Regions from separate parts of the Homo sapiens genome. Here region 1 is linked to region 2. Evidence: promoter capture Hi-C in human tissues and cell types (Jung and others, 2019). All regions are on one chromosome and are shown on one strand. Each heading gives the region's core, a stretch centred on a gene start or on the middle of the fragment in contact. The rest is flanking DNA. Distances are from core to core; before and after follow the strand shown.

Region 1 (7,622 bases), core at 1,212-3,711, 150 kb before region 2:
GGCTGAATTCATACTGTTAACTGGTGATGGAATCAACACTAGAATCCAGATCTTCTCATTCCCACCTAACTCAGTTTTCCAAGGCATATTGCCTCTAGGCATTTTGAGCAAAAATAATATGACTAGCATCACCTAATCACATCATTTTCCTGTTCTTATTTTTTATGTTTTTTTTTTTTAACTGATGGGATTCTGAAATAGATGAGAGGTTGATTTAATCAAATTGCTTTTGTGGCACAATTTTTAAAGGTGCAAACCTTTAATTTTAAGTAATATTTTAAATTATTTTTATATTATGGATATACAGATACTTCTCAGGTGAATGCCCAGAAGAAGAAAATTAGTCCAAATAGATGGGAGTAACTCTACCCCCATCTTTCCTTGGAGTCTTTTCTGATTCTCAGCACCCTCTATGGTAATGATCGATCAGAAGTAAAAACATGAATTATAGTGTTGAAGTGTTTTATATGAGGACTGTTTGTTTATTGTGATTAATACTATGACCAAAACAAAGCTAAGAAAGGAGTTTCAAAGTGACTTATTTAACATTGCATTGCACTGCATATTTTTCAATTTAGTTCAATTGAGCAGATATTTATTGAGTGCCTACTGTATGCCTAGTGCTGTTCTGGGCATTTGGGATATGTCAATGAACAAAACAAAGAACTTTGATCCTATAGAGCTCAAGTTGCAATTTATTCACTAGAATTTTTCCAGGATTTCTTAGGCAGGTACAAGAGAATTTCAGTTTTACCTAAGCAGGAAAATAAACATAAGTGATCCAAACTATCTTCCTTCCAATCCTGCAATTCTGAGAATCTTATAATCATGGAAAAAAAAAAAACTAAAAACGACAACAACAACAACAAAAAAACAAATTCAGGTGAAGTTACTTTGACTTTTATGAGCTGACATTTTACTGTAAGTGAATTGCAGTTCCCACATTTGGTTATTTAATATATGTTCATTTGGAGTCAATGAAATTACATTTCCTTTATTGCAGGGAGATCACCTTGGTGACTAAACTTGAAGCACGGGATGATTTGTTTTCTTAAGAGTGTTAGTGGTACCATGTTAGTATTGGAGACTAATTAAATTAGTTTATAAGATGTTGCTTTTTATTTATTTATGAAGATGGTGTTCTGTTGTTATTTTGTCTCACTTTACATTTTGTCCCCCACTTTCCTCCATATTCATAGACTATTAGACATTCCAGTTTTAAGCATTTTCTAATTCTCTCAATTGCTTTTTCTTCAAAACAGCATAGTTTGCAAGCTCAGGCATGTTTATTGTTTTTAACAAAGGCTTATCGAAATGAACTTGGCAGTTTTTCAGTCGTATACAGCCAAAGAAAAGTATTCAGTGCCGCTTTTGGGGTTGTTTATGCATTCCTCACCTAACCAGTTGCTTTGCTTTTAAAAATTGCCAATTTGGAAGCTATTTTCTTATGAGTACCTTTCCAGTGTATATAAAAAGTCACCCATTGAAATGATATAATAATTTAATTGATGAAAACTAAATACACAGTTGAAGAGGTTGGGGGATTTTGAACAGAAAGATTTTCCCTCTGATAATATTTTTAATGTGCTCTACATCAAAGGACATCAGAAAGTGTCATTATCTAACAATGTCCTGTTTGAAGGTGGTGTCTGTTGAACATTTGGGGAACAGTCACAATTTCTGATGCATGCTAGGCACCTGGAGTAGCTGATTTTTTTTTCTTCATTCACCCACCACTGTGCCCCATCAGATACATATCCTTCCTTCATTTACCGCGCATTGACGAGTAGGGTTAATTGCTGTAGCCAGGTAAGATGTTGCATGAAATTAATTAATTATTTAATTAGTGTGCTCATTCATTTATTAATTTAATGAATATTTATTGAACTTCTACTTCTTATTAAAAGATTTGTATAAGGATTTGTGTGAAGACTGTGTTTTGAGCATCTCTTTTCTGGTGCTGGTGACAGCAGGACGTGTAAAGACACAGAACATGCCTCTGATGCAGCTTACATCCTGGTATGGAAGAGAGGACATTGTATGGCTAGCTATCATACCGATTCAAACTACCATAAGAGATGCATAAGTACTTTGGGAATTAAAAGGAAGAAGAGAGAGCAGGCAGGCACTGTGAAGATTTGAGGGTTAGGGAAGACTTTGTAGAGGAGGGCCCATTGGAGTTGCTTCTTGAAAGATGGTAAAGCACGGTAAAGCTTTTATAGAGGCAGAGGATATACCTATCTTTATGGCAGCACATCCTTGCCTCTTTTTGAAGACACGTAGAGAACTTCCTCTTGGGAACCAGTTGAGGCTGTGTTGGGTCATATAATAGACACTTATCACCTCTCTGCCCCTCTACATGCATGTGACTCTGTTCTGCTTAATGAAATACTGCCCAACACTGAAACAACTCATTGGATTAACCAATGCTCTCCTCCTCTGAACCACATCCTGGTGGTTGCTCAGACACAGAGACCGCTGTGGGAAATAGCTATCATCTTAATAAATTTGTATACTTGGCTGTTACTAGGTCAGGTGCATGCTTACAGCGGTGTTTGGTTACAGTCCAGTTTATGCCAGTTGTACTTTGCTATTGTATTTTTGTTTTTTTCTTTGAGACAGAGCCTTGCTCTGTCACCCAGGCTGGAGTGCAGTGGTGTATTTCGACTCACTGCAACATCCGCCTCCCTGGTTCAAGTAATTTTCCCACCTCAGCCTCCTGAGTAGCTGGGATTACAGGCATCCACCACCATGCCTGGCTAATTTTTGTACTTTTTTTTTTTTTAGTAGAGACAGGATATCACCATGTTGGCAAGGCTGGTCTCGAACTCCTGACCTCAGGTGATCTGCCTGCCTTGGCCTCCCAAAGTGCCAGGATGCTATTGTAATTTTGTGATTTAATGAAATATTGCCTAAACCGATGTAATATGAATGCTAAACAAAGAATGGTATTTCTGTGAAAACTAAGTTGATCGCTATATGGACCCATAAAAGTAAGTAATGTTAAAAAAAATATATCAACACATGCTGCGACATGGATGAACCTTGAAAACATTATGCTAAGTGAAAGAAGCCAGATACAAAGACCACATGTTGTATGATTTATATGAAATGTCCATAATAAGCAAATGCATATGAACAAAAAGTGGATTAGTGATTGCCAGGGAAGTGGGGTAGGGGAAATAGAGAGTGACTGATGATGGATGCAAGGTTCCTTTTTGGGGTGACGGCTATGTTCTGGAATTAGATAATGGGGTGGTGGTTGCACAACATTGTAAATATATGAAAACCACCAGCCGGGCGCCGTGGCTCACACCTGTAATCCCAGCACTTTGGGAGGCCGGGGCGGGCAAATCACAAGGTCGGGAGATCGAGAGCATCCTGGCTAACACGGTGAAACCCCGTCTCTAGTACTAAAGTACAAAAAATTAGCCGGGCGTGGTGGTAGGCGCCTGTAGTCCCAGCTACTCGGGAGGCTGAGGCAGGAGAATGGCATGAACCCAGGAGGCGGAGCTTGCAGTGAGCCAAGATCCCGCCACTGCACTCCAGCCTGGGCAACAGAGCGAGACTCCGTCTCAGAAAAAAAAGAAAAAAAAAAACCACCAAATTTTACATTTTAAAAGTATTAAAATAGTGAAGTTTATGTGAATTTTATCTCAATTTATAAAAGGACTATAAAGCTTTTTAAAAAGCAACATGAACAAGCAAATTACAAAAGGAAGAGGGATGAGTACTTAGGTGTGGCATAGTGATAAGAGATTTGAAGAGTACAGTAAAAATTTCTAGAATGATTTTGCATTCAGGTTTTTTCACAAGCTCCAATAAGGTCCTGATCCTCTTTAAGAAATGGAAGCAGGAAATCTGGATGTGGATTAACCAAGAAAAATAACATAGAACTCCAATCATGACCCAATATCCAAAGATTAGTGAATGAATTTTTTGTTTATGAAAGGAATTGAAACAAAATGTTCAAAATATGTTGTATCAACTTTTTGACTCTGCTTTTCCTGACTTCTGATTACTTTACTGCTGAGAGCTTCTAATGTTTCCATTTCTGAGGGTACCCTGTATATTTTGAAAATAACTCATTTCTGTATCTAGAGAGAAATTCCATGTCTATGAGCCTCTTATAGATATAGCATTAGTCACTTAAGACTGTAAAGGAGGCCGGGTGCAGTGGCTCATGCCTGTAATTCCAGCACTTTGGGAGGTTGAGGCGGGTGGATCACCTGAGGTCAGGAGTTCGAGACTAGCGTGGCCAACATGGCGAAACCCCGTCTCTACTAAAAATACAAAAATTAGCTGGGCGTGGTGGCACGTGCCTGTAATCCCAGCTACTAGGGGGGCTGAGGCAGGAGGATGGCTTGAACCTGGGAGGTGTAGGTTGCAGTGAGCCGAGATTGTGCCACTGCACTCCAGCCTGGGCAACAGAGAGAGACTGTCTCAAAAAAAAAAAAAAAAAAGACTGTAAAGGAAATTGGGACTCAGTTTCCCAACTTCTGAATCACCATAAAAATCAGCAACTGTTTCCCCCTAACACCGTCTTCTGGCTCGGTGGTTCATATATGTAAACAAAGTAGCTACATAAAGTGTTAACTATACCAATACTTAAAAATTATCACCCAAATCATTTGTAGACTATGTTTTTTTCAAAATATTCCTGAGCACAATTAATCATTTTGTGGTTTATTTGACATATTATAAATTAGGGCCATAATTACTTATTTTGGGATTCCACTTTGCTTGATGGAATACTTTCCATGGGAGTGAGTTCATATTTATCTACTGAAACCAGATGTATTTCTTGAAACAGAAATTTCAGCTCTCTGAACCTGTAACTTCAAAGCAACCACATTCATAGCCCCCGAAGGAACCACCAAAAAAATAAAAACTCACGACAAAGTTAAATCTCATAAGGGAGAACAGAATGCTGCTTCTTCAGGCAGTGATAGTTCAACCAGACAACTATCAAAAACCAGCCTTAATCATCATTATTAAATAGTTATGAATAGGGGTAGCCCAAACTCACAGGCATAAATGATATAAAAAATAAATGGTCTGTTCAGGTTGACACCTGACAACCTAGTATCCATAAATCAGTTGATTGAAGACTCTGTATCAATGGTTCTCAACCCCACCTACACATTAGAATCACCTGAGGAAGGAAAAAAACTGGTACCAATGTCCTACTCTGAAAAATTCTGATTCCGTAGGTCTGAGATACAGGGCTAGGGTATTGATAGTTTTTAAATCTCTCTGGTGAATCTCATGTACAGCCAGGGTTGAGAAACTATGGACATATGTAATAATAATTTTGTGCCTCTTTAGAAAAAAATTTTATTGAAACATAAAATTTCATGTGTGGTATATTCTTAACATATAATGGAAATTTTTTGTGTGTGCATTTTCTCTATAGAGGGCCCATTCATTATATGGAAAGCTTTTCCCAATGGTTGAATGAATGTTCAGTGATTTTTTTTCTTCTCTGTGGAATTCACTAGGCTTATGTGTATAAGATGTCAAAACAACCAAATCAACACAATTGATATAATTACTGTCAACCAATGAATTAATTAACCAACTATTTTCAAGTTTTTGATGATTGTGGTACCATATGGGTATTTTTGTTTAGGACAATAATTTGGCCTTTTACTCTACAACAATAATGTGTTTCCTCTAAAATACTTACAGATGTGTCCTTTATTATGTGTTTCTTTAAATTGATTGAGTTGTCAACCTTAATACTCAAACTTTCTCTGAAAACTTTCTGTTTTTATTCAATTGCATCAAATTAAATAAAAAGGGTTATCTTGGGACAGGGTCTCTCTTTGTCACCCAGGCTGGAGTGCAGTGGCCTTATCAGGGCCCACTGCAGCCTCGACCTCCCAGGCTCAAGCAATCCTCCCATCTCAACCTCCCAAGTTGCTAGGACTACAGGCATGAGCCACCATGCCTGGCCAGACTTTTATATAAGAAAGATATTATATAGGACTCTTACGTAAGAAAGATAGGAGTTTAAACCTTGCCCTATGTGACTTCAACAAAGTATGATTAATTTTAGAGCTTTCCTTGTCATTAGGATTTATTGTTTTTGAGAAAATGTGGTGAGGTGACTGATACAGATTCTGAAGATTTATCTAGTAGACTACTCCTACTTAGAATTCACCTCTTTTTTTCTTTTCTCTCTCTCTCTCTCTCTTTTTTTTTTTAAGAGATGGGGTCTCACTGTCACCCAGGCTGGAGTGCAGTGGTGCAATGATGGTTCATTGCAGCCTTGAACTACTAGGCTCAGGCAGTCCTGCTTCAGCCTCCAAAGTAGCTGGAACTACAGGTGGGCACCACCATGCCCAGATAAATAATTTTTTTTTTTTTTGTAGAAATGGAAATGGAGTCTTACTATGTTTTTCCAGGCTGGACTTAAACTCCTGAGCTCAAGCAATCCTCTCTCCTCAGCCTCCCAAAGTGCTGAGATTATAGATGTAAGCTACCATGCCAGCCCCTTATTTTTTTAGTTTTATTATTTTTTTTTTGAGGTGGAGTCTCACTCTTTCACCCAGACTGGAGTGCAATGGCATGATCTCGGCTTGCTGCAACCTCTGCCTCCTGGGTTCAAGCGATTCTCCTGCCTCAGCCTCCTGAGTAGCTGGGATTACAGGCACCTGCCACCACACCCGGCTAATTTTTGTATTTTTAGTAGAGACGGGGTTTCACCACGTTGGTCAGGCTGGTCTCAAACTTCTGACCTCAAGTGATCTGCCCACCTCGGCCTCCCAAAGTGCTGGGATTACAGGCATGAGCCACCACGCCCTACTCAGCCCCTTATTTTTTTTAATTTGTTCTTATTTGGTTTTAATGCTCATGGAGATTCTCACCCACTGTTACCAGTTAGCTTCCCCAAATTACACTTTAACTGTTGATTTTGTAATAAAAATAAATAAATTTTTATCCACGAATAAAAATCTTAATGGATTTTGGCCAGTAGATTTTAAACTGTATTTTGCAAATTCCTGGGAGTATCAGGGAGCACCTCTGGAGCTGTGTTACAGGGCATGAGGGCAATGGGTGGCAGACCGATGTCCAGCTTCCAGCTTTGGGCTCCTTTCTGGTGGCCCCTTCTGCTATCTGAGTAGGTGTTCTGTTCTTGATTTCTTAATGGATTTTGGCCAGTAGATTTTAAACTGTATTTTGCACATTCCTGGGAGTATCAGGGAGCACCTCTGGAGCTGTGTTACAGGGCATGAGGGCAATGGGTGGCGGACCGATGTCCAGCTTCCACCTTTGGGCTCCTTTCTGGTGGCCCCTTCTGCTATCTGAGCAGGTGTCCTGTGCTTGATTTCACATATTTGGTTTCCAAGTAAGATTTTATTTGAACAAAGGATTTCTTGGCCAAAACAAGTTTGTAAGTGATTGGGCCACATGTTTCTAAGTTTCTGCTTCCTGTTCCTTGCCAAATTTGTTTTATATTCTGGCAGCTCCTAATTGTTTCAAGCTACGACTGCGGATCTGTGTTGAAAAGCCTGGGAAATCTTCGGTCTTAATAACTTTATAACTTTGATGCCTGTGGGGAGAGATAACCAAGTAAGCAGTTAGATATTTACAGCAAGAACTATAGCTTGGGAGTT
Region 2 (6,714 bases), core at 237-2,736:
GGTCAGAATACTTTTGAGTGAAAGCATTTTCTGCAGGTCACCAGTTCTAACTACACCAGGAAAAAAAGAAATATATATTTTGTGGAACAAACATATCACAATGCCTACAAAATTTCTTATTTTCTAACATCTAGTATAATGGTTTTTCAAATTTTAGCAGGCAACATGATCACCTGGAAAACTTATAACACACAGATTGATGGGCCCCACCCTAGAGTTTCTGAGTCAGCAGGTTTAGGGTAGGGCCTGAGAATTTGCATTTCTGCTACCTTCCCAAGTGATGCTGATGTTGCTAGTCAGGGGACCACACTTTGAGAACAGTTAATTCAGTGAAAAGCAAATTTCATAGTAATCACAATTTCATAGTTTCACAGTAATCACAAAATTTGACTTGGTATCAAAAACAAACAAACAACAGAAAAACAGCCATCTCTGAAAGTAGCTTCTTTTTCCCACGTGAATTTAACCAATTTATCAAATAAAAATAGCTGCTTCTTCTCACCTGGATGCCTAAAAGAGTATTTTGTATATTAAAAGGATCTCAATGCTCTTGCCCTGACTGGTCCCCGGGCCAGTCTCCTCTCTAGGCTCAGGCCTCTGTTCCCTGGTGAACAGTCTTTAAGTGTTGCCTGGGTAATTGTCCCTCTATTAGAAAGTGCTACAGAAATGACATCTTTGGAAATAAGATTGCTTTCTCGTTTATTTCCTTAAGAGCATTGCTGCTTTTATTAAGCCAGCTACCCTTACTAAGCGAGCTCTGTAACAGGAGTTAGGAAACTTGCCTCTACATATATTCTCATCTTGCCCCTCTGAATCTACTTTCCTACATTCTTCACCATGCTCTGTGCTTGGAAGCTGACTCTATGGACTTTATTAACTCCAAAACTCTTTTATTTTTTACTTTCTACTGGGGTTGGCCCACTGGGGAGCACCAGCCAGATATTAAATTGCAGGAGGAGGTGAAGGTCATGGAATTAATTCCTAAGCTCCCACTGTGCTCTGCTTGAGGTTGTCAGTGATTTTTTCACCAAAGGCCTCTTGAGAAGCCCCTCCCCTACAGCTATAGCTTAGAGTCTCCTTGGGTCTGGTTCTCTCCTCTTGCTCCTGTAGGCCCAGGGTTATCATGTTACCACTGTTGTAAACCAACACGCCTCTTCCCGCTGCCCTGCAACCAACAAGCACCATTTCCTGTTGATTTCCCTAAACTTTGCCCATATCGTCTTAAATAGCCCCCTTATTAAACTCTTCTTGGTTATCATGTTGAGGGTGCCTATCAGGGTCAGAACCACCAGTGGGACAGCTCCCTTAGGAGAAGGCCTGTCAAAAAATTGGCCCTTAAGGAAAGTTTTAGAATTTCAAAGTGTGCAGAAATAAGGTCAGTGAAGCAGAGAAAGACTTTACCTCATGGTGCTATGAAGATAGCAGGTGATCTGTAGTGCTTTGGTTCAGGCTTGGAGGCTCCTTCAAGGTTCATCCACAGAGTTCTAGGGCTTCTCAGATAAGCATGGTGCTTATATATGGGAGGTATATCCAGGCAGTTTTTTACACCCTTGATGCCTAGTGAATTGGCAGGGTGAAAATGATACAGAGGAATAGGGCTGTCTCTGCTTTGATTACAAATACATGCTGAGTTTTGGCAGCTAAGAGGATGGGTGTGTGAGAAGCAGTTTTGATACGCAAATTCCCTTGCTGGAGTCAATGTGGTGTAGGAGATAGAGGGTAACTGGACTTTATGATGACATTCAGTGTTGTGGAAAAACCAGTGGCAGACAGGAACGTATATTTTTGTGAATCATGTCAGACTCTGTTGTCAAACTTGTTACTATCACATGTATCCCGCCAGGTGGTTCCAGGGACGTCTACAATGGAAGCTCCTTAGACCAGGGTCAGTGGTTTGTGCCTAAAAGAATACTGTAGAAAGTCATTGTCAATTTGTGGAAGAATGAGGTTGCAGATGGTTAGGTCTTCTTCTGTGGGGCTGTGTTAGGCAAAACAACTCCTCAATTTTGAGATATTGGTCTATAAGAAGGGTCCCATACTGGTTACATCCTCCAGCAGCATTTGCATTACTGCCAACCCTGGCTATAGTGGAGCCTATTCAAGCATATTGACTGTTTTGATGATCTTTACTGTTCACCATTAGTGGTTCAAACAACAATGTTTGAGCTGGTCAGTAGAGAAACATATGCAATGTAGTCAGAGAATGTGATGGGGTCATGGGGGTTAAAAATCTAAATCCAAATTCACATAGTTCTTCTGAGTTGTCCTTATGTTTCTTCTGTTTCTACTATTTTGAAGATTATCTGTTACAAAGCAACAACCATCAGAGAGTCAATCAAACAATGTTCACATGTTTAATGAAAAATTTATATGATCCCAAGGCTGATGTAATTGCCCACACAATTAGCAGAGAAAAAGGAAAATTTGGAAAGCTGCTATTCTGAATTCCTCTTGTGAATTGTTACAATGTCATCCTGTACGTTTCTGGATCTTGGTTTTGTAGGGGTAGTGCACCAAGATAAGCAAAAGGGCAAAGACTGAGAGCGATTTCCCTCTGAGTGAGCATTTCAAGGTAGGGTTATTAACTTCATTACAGTCTTCTCATAATTACCAAATGAAACTGTAGCCTCGCTGTGCTATTTCTTCTTTGTCCTGGGCCTGTAACTAGACTATATTTCCCAGGCTCCCATGTGGTAAGGTGTGGTCATGGGCATGGGATGGGAGGCTGTCAGGAAGCAGAAATGATTCTATAATTGGGTATCTTAAATTGTGTCTGGAAAAAGAGAAGACTAGACCAAGGTGACAGGTGTAATTTGAAAGGAAGCAGCAGTCATTCATATTGGCCAGTTTAAGGGGCTGCTTGATTATTTTCGAATCCAGTTGGAAAATATTCGTATTTTTGTCTGCACTCAGACCTGATTACAGAGTGGCCTTGTATTTTGTCTTGACCCATCATGGTCACAGGTGTTAATGATGCTCTCAGATGTCTGGGGCAGCTCTTCTCTTTCTTTTCAGGGAACTTCTGAGTTACTGCTCCAGTTACTGCTCCTGACCTTTCTAAAGCCAAAAATTATATAGACAAGAAGGACTACCCAGAAAAGGAACGTCACATAAGATCTTATGCATTCACAGTTGAAATGAGAGCAGACATCTTAGGAAAAGAATATGCTTAAGAAAGAGTATAGTATATAATCTCTCTCTCTATGTGAATTAAAAACCCATCTCCACGTCTATTCAAGGAAGGATTTAGGCAACTTGAGATAGACCACATCTCCCCATTCGCATGAGACAAGTTCCTAGAAGAATGTGCTGGACCTCTTGACTTCTTCTTCTTTTTTTTTTTTTTTTTTTTTTAAGATAGAGTCTCGCTGTATCACCTAGGCTGGAGTACAGTGGCACTATCTCTGCTCACTGCAACCTCTGCCTCCCAGGTTCAAGTGATTCTCATGCCTCAGCCTCCAGAGTAGCTGGCACTACAGGTGTGCACCACCATACCCAGCTATTTTTTTGTATTTTTAGTAGAGATGGGGTTTCACCATGTTGGCCATCCTGGTTTCGAACTCCTGACCTCAGGTGATGCACCTGTGTTGGCCTCCTAAAGTGTGGGATTACAGGTGTGAGCCACTGCACCTGGCCCGTCTTGACATCTTACAAGCACAGGATATCATTTAGATCCATGTATTCTTCCATAAACCCACCAAATCTCAACATTACTTAAGTAATGAGAATCCCCATTTTATTCCTTGAGTATACTCTAATAATAAAAGTAGGCAGAAAAATTCTCTAAGCATAATGACAGCACAGAAATGGAGGTTAGAACCATTCAGGGGAATGAGGGAAAGGAAACTAGGCCCACGTAGCCCTGCTGTGGAAGACCAAGTTTGCTGAAAGGGAAGAATGATTGTTAGTCAAACATTGTTCCATCTGGGGTTGAGCAAACCAAGGCCATTAGAAAAAACCTTCTACACCTGTCAGGTGACAGAATCACCTGATGGAGGGGGTTCTGCACAGATATTTGCCATCTTGTTTATTTTGGGGTTGTGTACTCTGAGTATAAGACAATAGCACCCCATCATAGAACAACCATTATTCTATATTTGGGGCCAATGGGATGTTTTCTTCTGAGGTTTCCTTTCTTGCTCTGCAGCTTGGGCATAATGAGAACTATTAAAACCCTTTACCTTTACTTGTCTTTGTGCGCACAAGATGATGTTGCTCAGTAGTGAAGGCCACCTGGAATCAGACTACCTGGGGTCATTAATGGACTTTGCTGCTTACTGGACATGTGATCTTGGGATAGTTGGTTCACATTTCTAAGCCACATTTACTTACCCATGGAATCGGAATAGCACTAGGACTTTCGTCATGGGGTTATGTTGAGATGAAGTGGGATATTGCATGGAAAGCATGTCTCATTTAACAGCATTCAGTAATTGTGAGTGTTGCTTTCACAGTGTGGGACAAGTCCCCTTATCTGTGCAGTCTGTGCTGACCATTAGCTGGAGCCCTTCCAGACTACAATTTTTCCCAGTGGGCACTGAGAGAGAGGTGTTTCATGTCATATCTGACTGTGCAGCTGCTGAGATAGGGGTGTCCTGTTCTGAGCTTCAGGCCAGGGCAATCTACATATTCCCATCTCAGGCTCAGGTCAGGGAGCCCTGGCCATATCTACACATAGAGCCCAGCAGTACCTCTTGGGCAGCAGGCATTCAACCTCTCCCTAGTGAGGATGGACCTGTGTAGGGGGAGAAGAGATTTTGGAATGGGACTCATTTCCTCTCAGCTCTCTCTCTCCAGTTCTGTATCAGATGGGAAGCTTCTAGGAGGCCAATTGTGTTTTCAGATACAAATATCTTCTGTAAGGCACTAGCCCTGAATCAACTCTAAAAGGGATAGAAACATAAGCAAATACTGAAATGAACATTAGGAGAGCTGCTTACACTGAGAGTAGTATGACTTTGGAATTTTCATGCATAAAATTATTGCTAGTAACAGCGTGTCAGAGAAACAGAGTGAGTGTTTGTCATGTGGTCACTGAATTTGGCAGCAGTCCTGGTTCTGTGAGGCTCTGGCTCAACTGATTAGGTATTCAGGATCTGGCCCAGTGTGTCCTTGGATAAATACAGCCATGAACCACACAGGACAGAGCAACAATAAGGAAACAGCCAACACATTGTGTAAGAGAGAGAGAGAGAGAGTGTGTGTGTGTCTGTGTCTACAAATAGGAAAAAAACAATGGAAACTAGAGAGGGAAACTCATTTCTAATGGGCAGGATGCCTACTTGTAGAAATGAAACTTAAGCATTGGAGAAATAAAACTTAACCACTATCAACATTCCAGAACCAGCTCTGTGTTCGACGAACTAGCAGAGTGAACTTGATTTCACTTAAACACTGAGTTTCCTCATCAGGTATAGAAAAAGGTTGGCCTTGAACAGTGGTTTACAACCTTGGGCTGCAAGGTTGTAAAATTCCTTGGAAGTCTTTTAAAAATGCAGATGCCTGAGCCAATCTCCAGCCCAATCAATCAGAATCTCTGGAAGTGAAGCCCAGGCATGAGTATTATCAGTAAGTTTTCTGAAAAAAGTAATCCCAAAGTGATTTTTTTGTGCATGGTTTAAAACCACTAGACTAGATTTTTGCTACTCAGGATATGGTCTGTTACAGTGGCATCCTCAACTACTAAAAGCCCAGAAATGCAGAATATCAGGCCCCTCTACAGATCTCCTGAATGAGAACTTGCCTTTTAACATGTCCAGATGATTTGTTGGTACATTAAAGTTTCACAGATACTTTTCCAAATGATCCCTGGATCCCTTTCAGGTCCAAATGCTTTGGATCAGAGACTAATTCCTAATAAATACCTATTTTCTATGAGGCTCTGAGTCTAGAACTTTATTTTTCTATGCTTTGGTTTCCCCTTGTGCACCTTAATAATCCATGCAATACCAGAAAGGATGTAGGTCAAAGTGCACTGACCTCTACAGAGAGTGTCTGATGTTTGCTTTTGAGACTACTCATGTTTGCAAACTTGCACCAATCATGTCCACAGAGAAAATACTCAGCTACTAGGAACTTCTCTGCTCTGAAAGTCCTGGTAATCTTCATACCACCTCAGGGGTCTTGATGGCTATCTTTGGGCTACTCTGATTTACTTTTCTGGCTGACTCCCACGTGTTCCAGTTTTTTTTTTTTTTTTTTTTTTTTGAGAGGGAGTCTCGCTCTGTCGCCCAGGCTGGAGTGCAGTGGTGCAATCTTGGCTCACTGTAAGCTCTGCCTCCCGGGTTCACGCCATTCTCCTGCCTCAGCCTCCCGAGTAGCTGGGATTACAGGCACCCACCACCACGCCCGGCAAATGTTTTTTGTATTTTTAGTAGAGACGGGGTTTCACTGTGTTAGCCAGGATGGTCTCGATCTCCTGACCTCATGATCCGCCCGCCTCTGCCTCCCAAAGTGCTGGGATTACAGGCGTGAGCCACCGCGTCCGGCCCCACGTGTTCCAATTCTAACTGAATTTCTGTGCTTTCATTGTTTTACATGTCAAATATTCATTCACCTGGAATTGTCTATATAAATTGTAGGAAGCATTTACATCACTGAACTAGACTCAAGATATTTCATAGATCCTATAATGTCTATTGGAAAAGTCCTCAGGTTCCCGGAAAGCAAGTTGTTTTTAGACTGTCTGAAGTATCTTGGGACTTGAAAAGTCCA

The links. The method cuts DNA at HindIII sites, captures the fragments that hold promoters and counts their contacts. A contact is called where the count stands out against the background at its distance.
Region 1: a fragment that was not itself captured here is called in contact with the fragment with the promoter of IFIT1B in region 2 in 1 of the 25 tissues and cell types used here (aorta).

The regions. Positions count from the first base shown.
Region 1 is chr10:89,526,391-89,534,012 of GRCh38, reverse strand. The region is part of intron 2 of SLC16A12 (solute carrier family 16 member 12); the gene reads left to right. Among named protein-coding and RNA genes, the nearest start is that of SLC16A12, 5.4 kb to the left of the region's middle. RefSeq lists an enhancer at 1-152. The HindIII fragment of the contact is 4,199 bases long and covers 362-4,560 here.
Region 2 is chr10:89,372,828-89,379,541 of GRCh38, reverse strand. IFIT1B (interferon induced protein with tetratricopeptide repeats 1B) reads right to left here and starts at 1,486. Exons shown (of 2, transcript NM_001010987.2): 1 at 1,402-1,486. The coding sequence starts at 1,406. It also overlaps a transcript of LIPA not described here. The HindIII fragment of the contact is 9,233 bases long and covers 1-6,527 here.